Regions from separate parts of the Homo sapiens genome. Here all the other regions are linked to region 1. Evidence: promoter capture Hi-C in 16 types of primary human blood cells and fetal thymus (Javierre and others, 2016). All regions are on one chromosome and are shown on one strand. Each heading gives the region's core, a stretch centred on a gene start or on the middle of the fragment in contact. The rest is flanking DNA. Distances are from core to core; before and after follow the strand shown. Region 1 holds the start of OR4L1 (olfactory receptor family 4 subfamily L member 1). Region 2 has its middle 12 kb from the start of OR11G2. Region 3 overlaps LOC124903278 (a long non-coding RNA gene).

Region 1 (2,621 bases), core at 63-2,562:
TCATGATACCTCATTTAATAATAGTATAAATTTATGAATAACATTATCAATATATATTAAAATAACCTCTAATAATATTCATATCTTCATGTATTCATTTACAGTTGTTTCTTTATTAATGAATATATTGAATGTATATGATAAAAATCCTCAATAATCTTTTTATGTTTATTTATGTCTATTTTTATGTCTATTTTGCTGCAGATCTCTATCCTTATGTTTATAAAAGTCTTAAATGTAAAATTTAAAGTAATTTAGTATTGTCTTTATGCGTTATTATTATAACATAAGAAAAGTGAAATGATGCATTATACATAATCTATTCAAACTATCTTATCGTAGCATTTAAAAGTTAATTATATAGTGCTAACATCTAGAAATTCTGTGCAGAACTAACATATTGGAACCGTAATTTTCTTATGGCCTCTTGCATTTTCTTATTTCTCAGGGTATAAATACTCGGATTCAGTAAGGGTGTGATAACTGTATAAAATACGGCAAGAGTTTTATTGCTTGCCAAACTACTGAATGGCCAAACATAGATAAAAATACAAGGTCCAAAGAACAGAGTGACCACAATGATGTGGGCAGACAATGTGGACAGCGCCTTGGAGAGCCCATGTGATGATTTTTTTGGTACACTGACCAGGATGACAATGTAAGAAACAAGCAAGAGGATGAAACAGGTGAAAGAGAGCAGCCCGCTGTCAGCAATGACAAATAATTCCAGGGTGTATGTTTCAATGCAAGCAAGCTTGATCACAAGGGGAAGATCACAAAATATGTTGTTTATGACATTGTGGCCACAGAAAGGCAAGTTCATTGTTAAAACTATCTGGCTTATGGAGTGTAAAAAACCAATTATCCATGAAAGTATCGCAAACCCCTTTAGCAGCTTGTGGCTCATGATTGTCCTATAGTGCAGGGGTTTACATATGGCTACATACCTGTCAAAGGCCATGATTATCAGAAGAGTCATCTCAGCACCCCCAAAGAAGTGCATGAAGAACATCTGGGTCACGCAGCCCCACACAGAGATGGTCTTGTGGTCAGTGAGCAAATCTATGATCATCTTGGGTGTTGTGGCAGTGGAGAGACACATGTCCAAAAAAGAGAGATTTCCAAGGAGAAAGTACAAGGGAGAATGAAGGGTTGACCTACATGTCACTGTGACCATAATGAGAATGTTTCCCATCACAGTAGCACCGTAGATCAGGGAAAATGTCACAAAGAAGAAAATTTGAAGTTCCCATCGTCCAAAAAATCCTAGTAAAATAAACTCGGTCACTAGAGATCCATTTTTAAGATCCATTTACTCAACTCAGAAAGGTTCCAGAAGTTCTTTATATACAAAGAGAATTAAAAAATAAGTCACAGTTAACACCAATATTTTCTTATTTCTATTAGTTGGTGATAATAGTTGATGATATGAGATCATATAATTTTAAATATATCAACACAGAGATTAGCTTAAATATTATATCACTTTGAAACAATTACTCTGCAGTAATTACAAATCATTTGAAGAAGTAGAAGTTCCATTTTCTATTGTTTATTCCATAAAATCATACTCTTATCAATGGATCTTGACTTTCTTACTCATTTGTTCACATATAAAGATTAGATACTAATTAATTACTTTTTATTTTGCCTTTTATTATTATAGTATTCTGTACCTGCACTTCTTGAGATTATGTTATCCCAATATATAAGGAATACAAGATTTAGAAAATGAAGAATTACATTGTTCTACATCTCTGAAGTAATTTATGAAGGTTTTTCTATGGTTCTAAACTAAATAAGCAAACAAACAAACAAAAAGCACACACACACACACACACAAATCAGGAGCAAATTATACATGGATGAAAGTATATAAATTTATTTAAAATAATTTTTCTTTTTAATATACATGTATACCTCTTTTATTGTGTTTCACTTTATTGTCCTTTGCAGTTATTTAATGTTTTATAAACTGAGGGTTTGTGACAACCCTGGATCCAGCAAGTCTATTGGCACCATTTTTCCAACAGCATGTGCTCACTTTATGTCTCTGTGTCACATTTTGGTAATTCCCAAAATATTTATTTCAAACTTTATTATTATTATTACACGTTATTTGATCTGTGACCAGTAATCTTTTATGTTACTATTTTCATTATTTTTGGGCACCACAAGCCGTGCCCATGTAGAATGGCAGACAATTGATAAATGTTGTTTCTAACGGCTCCACCAACCTACTCTTCCCTCATCTCTCTCCTTCTCTTCAGGCCTCTCTATTCTTTGAGATACAACAATATTGGATTTAGGCCAATTAATAGCTTTGCAATAGCCTCTAAGTGTTCAAGTAAAAGGAAAAGTTGCATGTCTTTTATTTGAAATAAACTAAGAAAAAACTGGAGACAGTTAAACGTTCAGTGGTTTCCAGGGGTTTGAATGAAGAAGGAGAAATGAAGAAATAAGAGAAGTACGGAGAATTTGCAGGGTATTGAAACAATTCTTATCTACTATACTTAGAAATACATAACACATTTGTCAAAACCCATAGCATGTATAACATCAAGAGTAAATCCTAATGTAAACTACAAATTTGGGGAGATAATAATGTGCAATGTAGGCTC
Region 2 (2,621 bases), core at 55-2,554, 140 kb before region 1:
GAGATAACTTCTTTTTGTTCATAGGAAAAGTTATAAAAACTAATTTCTAGAAAATCAGTTGTAATGTCCTCATTTAATTTCTAATTTTTGTTGAGTCTTCTTTTTTTCTTAATCTAGCTAAAGTCTTGTCCACTTAGTTTATCTTTTTGAATAACAAACTTTTGGTTTTGTTCATTTTCTCTACAGTTTTATATTTTCACTTCATTTATCCCTGCTGTAATCTTCATTATTTCCTACCATTTGCTAGCTTTGAATTTAGTTTGTTCTTCTTTTTCTAGTTTCTTATGGCATAAAGTTAGGTTTTTGAGTTGAGATTTTTCTTCTTTTATAATGTAAGCCTTTATAGCTATAAATTTCTCTCTTAGTGCTGCTTTCTTTTCATCTTGTAAATTTTGGTATGTTGTGTTTTCATTTTTATTTGTCTCAAGATACTTTATAATTTCCCTTGTGACTTCTCTGACTCATCGCTTGGTTTAGATTGTGTTGTTGAATATCCACATATTTGTGGATATTTCTTTTTGCTGTTGATTTACGGTTTTATTCCATTGTGATTTGAGAAAGATAGGTACGATTTTAATCTTTCAAAATGATTAAGGCTGTTTTGTGACTTAACATTTCATGTAGGCTGGAGGATTAAAATATTTTACTTAAAAATTTTGAGTTGTGTCCATTCATAAAATGAAACAAAGGAAAAAGAGGATGGCAAAGTCTTTAATAGAAAGCCTACAGCCTGGGCAACATAGAGAGACCCAATTTCTAAAAAAAAAAAAAAAAAAATTAGCCAGGCATGGTGGCATGTGCCTGTGGTCCCAGCTACTTGAGAGGCTAAGGTGGGAGGATTGCTTGAGCCCAAGAGGTTGAGGCTGCAATTAGCTGTGATCATACCACTGTATTCCAGCATGGGTGACAGGGTGAGATACTATCTAAAAAAACCCCCAAACTGCAAACAACAACAACAAAAAGAAAGCCTAACACCTTTGAACTAAAAAAAAAAAAAAAAAAAAAAGATGAAGAGATTGCTAGTGTAATGGGGAAATTGAAGAAAATTCAAACGAGAGCTAAACCATGGCCACAAACTTCCAGGGATGAGTGATTCCCTTCTGAGTGGCATCAGGTCTAGCTCTGGTTCATCCTTACCTGAGGATGAAGACCATTAGAGCACCAGCTTTTTGTGACCACCCCCTCCCCACCAGCACCAGGTTCCTATTTCTATCTCCTCAGCCAGGAATTGTCCTGAAGCATAAGGATATGAACTACAGTCAAGTGCTCTCTGAGCATGAATGGCCTTAGTGCTCACCTCTCAGGCTTTCATAAAAAAATGACTTAGCCATTTTCTATTCTCTCTTCAGATTGTCAATGTTTTTAAGTTTTTTTTTAAATTTAGTATTTTTATTTGATCACAGCAAGATGGTAGATCGAAGCAATTCAACATTCTATTACTAAAATCTATATTTACTTAACATTTTAAATAATATCTCTCTTTTGTATTCAATTTATATTATTACTATTATTATTGTTATTTTTTGAGATGAAGTTTCACTCTTGTTGCCCAGGCTGGAGCACAATGGCATGATCTCAGATCACTGGAAGCTCCACCTCCCGGGTTCAAGGGATTCTCCCGCCTCAGCTTCCCAAGTAGCTGGGATTACAGGCATACGTCACCACACCCGGCTATTTTTTTTTTTGTATTTTTAGTAGAGACAGGGTTTCACCATGTTGGCCAGGCTAGTCTCGAACTCCTGATCTCAGGTGATCCACCCACCTCGGCCTCCCAAAGTGCTCGGATTATAGGCATAGCCACCACGCCCAGCCTATATTATATTTTATGGTCATACTTGCTTTGTCTCTGGGACCTTAGTAGTAACCACTAGCAGTGGTTGATTATACGATGGTGTAAAATAATTTCTAGAAGCACTTCTATTCTGTAACCTGAGGTGCACTTGCAAAAAGACAATGCCTGTGCTGTGCTTACAACCTCTTTCACACAAGTTCCATACTTACATACATGCAGCTTCTCGTGAGCTTCCACTGTAATTAGGCCTTCCCCTCTCACTGAACTTTTGCTACTTAACAAAAAGAAAACCTTCCAATTTTCTCGATCACAAGACTGTGAATCCTATGAGGGAAGAAAATGTGTCTTATATACCTTTGTCTCAAATTTATTTCCTGGCTCAATGTTTGGTACATTGCAGGTGCCGAACAAGGGCAATAAAAATCAGTAATTGAAAAATAAGGGAGATGATGTCTAAATATAACTGTGATAAAACTCGTTAAAGTTTTATAACAGTATATTTACACAAGCCCTAAGATGAGGAAGCTGTATCTCAGGTTTTTTCTAAAGTACGAAACTATCTGAGTGAAATTATGTTAAGGGGCTCTGAAGACCTCGCTTCAACATTTCTATCAATAAACAGGCTCCTAAGGAACCCTAGAATTGCGGGAAAAAATGATTTTCCAAATCTAATGATCAGAAAGTTCTCCTAGAAAATTGTTCTTTGTTGGCCGGGTGCAGTGGCTCACGCCTGTAATCCCAGCACTTTGGGAGGCCGAGGTGGGTGGATCACCTGAGGTCAGAAGTTCGAGACCAGCCTGGCCAACATGGTGAATCTCCATCTCTACTA
Region 3 (2,621 bases), core at 51-2,550, 140 kb after region 1:
CTTGGCTCTGCTGACAGATCCATTCCACCCACACCCCACCTTTATGTTCCTCTAAAGACCACCCTGAAGTGCCTTTGCAATCACCTACTCTGTTTTTTCCTGGAGGACTCTGTTACTCTGCATTCCTGGAAAGTGTACCTCTGATACTTTCCTCCTTGTCCTGTGACTAACTTGACTCATACTATTGCCAGTTGTCTCTATTTAGTCAATGGAACTAAAGCTTCTTCATCCTTTATCCCGTTGGCCTTTTGGGGTACTCTCCCCACGAGCCATGACACCGTCTCTCTGTAAAGTCTGAGGCATCACATCAGCTCTTTCGAACAGCTTCTGTGCTGGGCATTGTCTGAAGGACTGTTCCTTGTCAGAAGGACTGCTCATCAACTTAGTTCATAAGCATAGCAGAAGTAGCTTAAATTGTGAGATCTCAGGAAACAAATAAAAGTCTGCCCTGGGTTTGGTAGCATCCCTTCTTACTTTTTAAAATATTCAGATTATCAAAAGCAATTTAGGAATATATTCATCTACCATAAACAAATCCCCTAATAAGGTAGAGTTTGGCTTAGCCAGGGAGAAATATGTTAATTAACTCATTGTATGGGTTATCGTGAAGAAGAAGCCATATAATACAGAGCCTGTGTGAACCAAAAAGGTAGTTTTTTTTTTCTTTTCTTTATTCTGAGAGAAATAGCTGAAAATTAAAAGACTGAAGAGATTGGTGACTTGATCAAAAGCTAAGTAATCTGTTCAATGTCAAAAATAGTAATATAATCAATGTTCAAATCCCAGTTTTTGACAGCCAACTCAAGACACTTTCCTTTACACTTTTTCAATTGACTAGAGTTATTTCCACATTTACTAAAATGTTCACTTCTTCTGCCATTTTATTCAGTTAATGATATTTCTCTGTCAATTTGTCAGCAGTGCAGGGAAAGTCTATAGGATCTGTAAACCAGAGGAAAAAAAAAGAATTTTTAATACTATCCTATTACTTTGAAATGTGTGTATTAAAAAGTTGATTACCAAGTTATATTAATAGTTGCTTTATTTTTTTATTTATTTTTCTATTTTTTATATTTTAAACAAAATTTAAGGTGGGATTCTACAGTACATAATATCACAATCCTAACCGAAATACGATGCTATGTGCCTTTAATAGTTTCCCTTAAATAAGAATTAATTAAATTAGAAATTCATTGCTCTTAGCATTAGGAATGTCCCTTGTTTTTATTGGAACTAGAGTAATTTGAAAAATTTGTGGAAATAGTGCTGCAATAAACATACATGTGCATGTGTCTTTAGAATAGAATGATTTATATTCCTTTGGGTATATAACCAGTAATGGGTTTGCTGGGTCAAATGGTATTTCTGGCTCTAGATCTTTGAGGAATAGCTACACCGTCTTCCACGATGATTGAACTAATTTACACTCTCACCAACAGTGTAAAAGCATTCCTATTTCTCCACAGTTTCACCAGCATCTAATGCAAATCAAAACCACAATGAAATACCATCTCACACCAGTCAGGATGGCGATTATTAAAAAGTCAAGAAATAAATTTGAGTTTACCAAATGATAGCATTCACTTTATAAATGCTATCTTTTTTTTTTTTTTTTTTTTTTTTTTTGATACGGAGTTTTGCTCTTGTTGCCCAGGCTGGAGTGCAATGGCGCGATCTCGGCTCACCACAACCTCCGCCTCCCAAGTTCAAGCGATTCTCCTGCCTCAGCCTCCCGAGTAGCTGGGACTATAGGCATGTGCCACCATGCCCGGCTAATTTTGTATTTTTAGTAGAGAGGGGTTTTCTCTATGTTGGTCAGGCTGGTCTTGAATTCCTGACCTCAGGTTATCCGCCCACTTCGGCCTCCCAAAGTGCTAGGATTACAGGCGTGAGCCACCGCACCCAGCCCTATCATTTTTTATATTTTCAAGCATGTCATAGATGAATTTCACTTTAGTGCATAAATAGATGAAGCTACTGACTTTTTTTTATTCAACTGGCTCCTGATTTCTCTCATTAACATATTTGATGAGATGCTTCTGATTTTTCGATACCTTCAAAATACTTAAAAGTATCTGTATCTGTCAGAGTCTAGTCAGGAGACAGAACCCACATGAGTAATTTGAACAGAGAATACTTAATATAAAGAATTAGCAACTGGTAATAGGAATTAGCTACTACAAGGAGAATAAAAAGTAACTCTAAAAAAATACCCTAAGAGAGAACTGACATCTTTTACCATACTGTTTTTCTATTTATTAATATAGTGTCTATCTTCACTTATTTAAGTTTGATTTACTAATACACTCTTCATTACTACCTTTTGTTAAATTTTATAATTTTCTCTAAATGCACATCTTTAAATTTGTACATAAGCTTAGAGTATTTGTTGTTTTGCAAGTTACATTTTTTACATAAATAATTGTAATTTTTTGTTGACATATTTTTTCTTTTTCAACATTTATTTGTAAAAGATGTCATTCTCTATAAGTTAATAAATATGTTATATACAATGAATATAATAAATATCTTTGTATGTCAATTAACACATGAATCCAATGCAATTACAACAAAATCCTGAAATAATATTTTAAGAAATCTGACGAGCTGGTTGTAAAATG

What was found. The method cuts DNA at HindIII sites, captures the fragments that hold promoters and counts their contacts. A CHiCAGO score of 5 or more calls a contact.
Region 2: a contact is called between a fragment that was not itself captured here and the fragment with the promoter of OR4L1 in region 1, in 2 of 17 cell types (M2 macrophages and M1 macrophages). The highest score is 7.8, in M2 macrophages.
Region 3: a fragment that was not itself captured here is called in contact with the fragment with the promoter of OR4L1 in region 1 in 15 of 17 cell types (total CD4 T cells, naive CD4 T cells, non-activated CD4 T cells and 12 more); the score reaches 11.9 in total CD4 T cells.

Annotation. Positions count from the first base shown.
Region 1 is chr14:20,058,736-20,061,356 of GRCh38, reverse strand. It overlaps OR4L1 (olfactory receptor family 4 subfamily L member 1), which reads right to left and starts at 1,312. Exons shown (of 1, transcript NM_001004717.1): 1 at 374-1,312. The coding sequence starts at 1,312. The coding sequence ends at 374. The HindIII fragment of the contact is 2,043 bases long and covers 757-2,621 here.
Region 2 is chr14:20,201,383-20,204,003 of GRCh38, reverse strand. No RefSeq gene overlaps it. Among named protein-coding and RNA genes, the nearest start is that of OR11G2, 12 kb to the right of the region's middle. The HindIII fragment of the contact is 5,403 bases long and covers 1-2,621 here.
Region 3 is chr14:19,923,406-19,926,026 of GRCh38, reverse strand. All of the region lies in intron 2 of LOC124903278 (a long non-coding RNA gene), which reads left to right. It also overlaps a transcript of OR4K1 not described here. Among named protein-coding and RNA genes, the nearest start is that of OR4K5, 4.1 kb to the right of the region's middle. The HindIII fragment of the contact is 2,156 bases long and covers 223-2,378 here.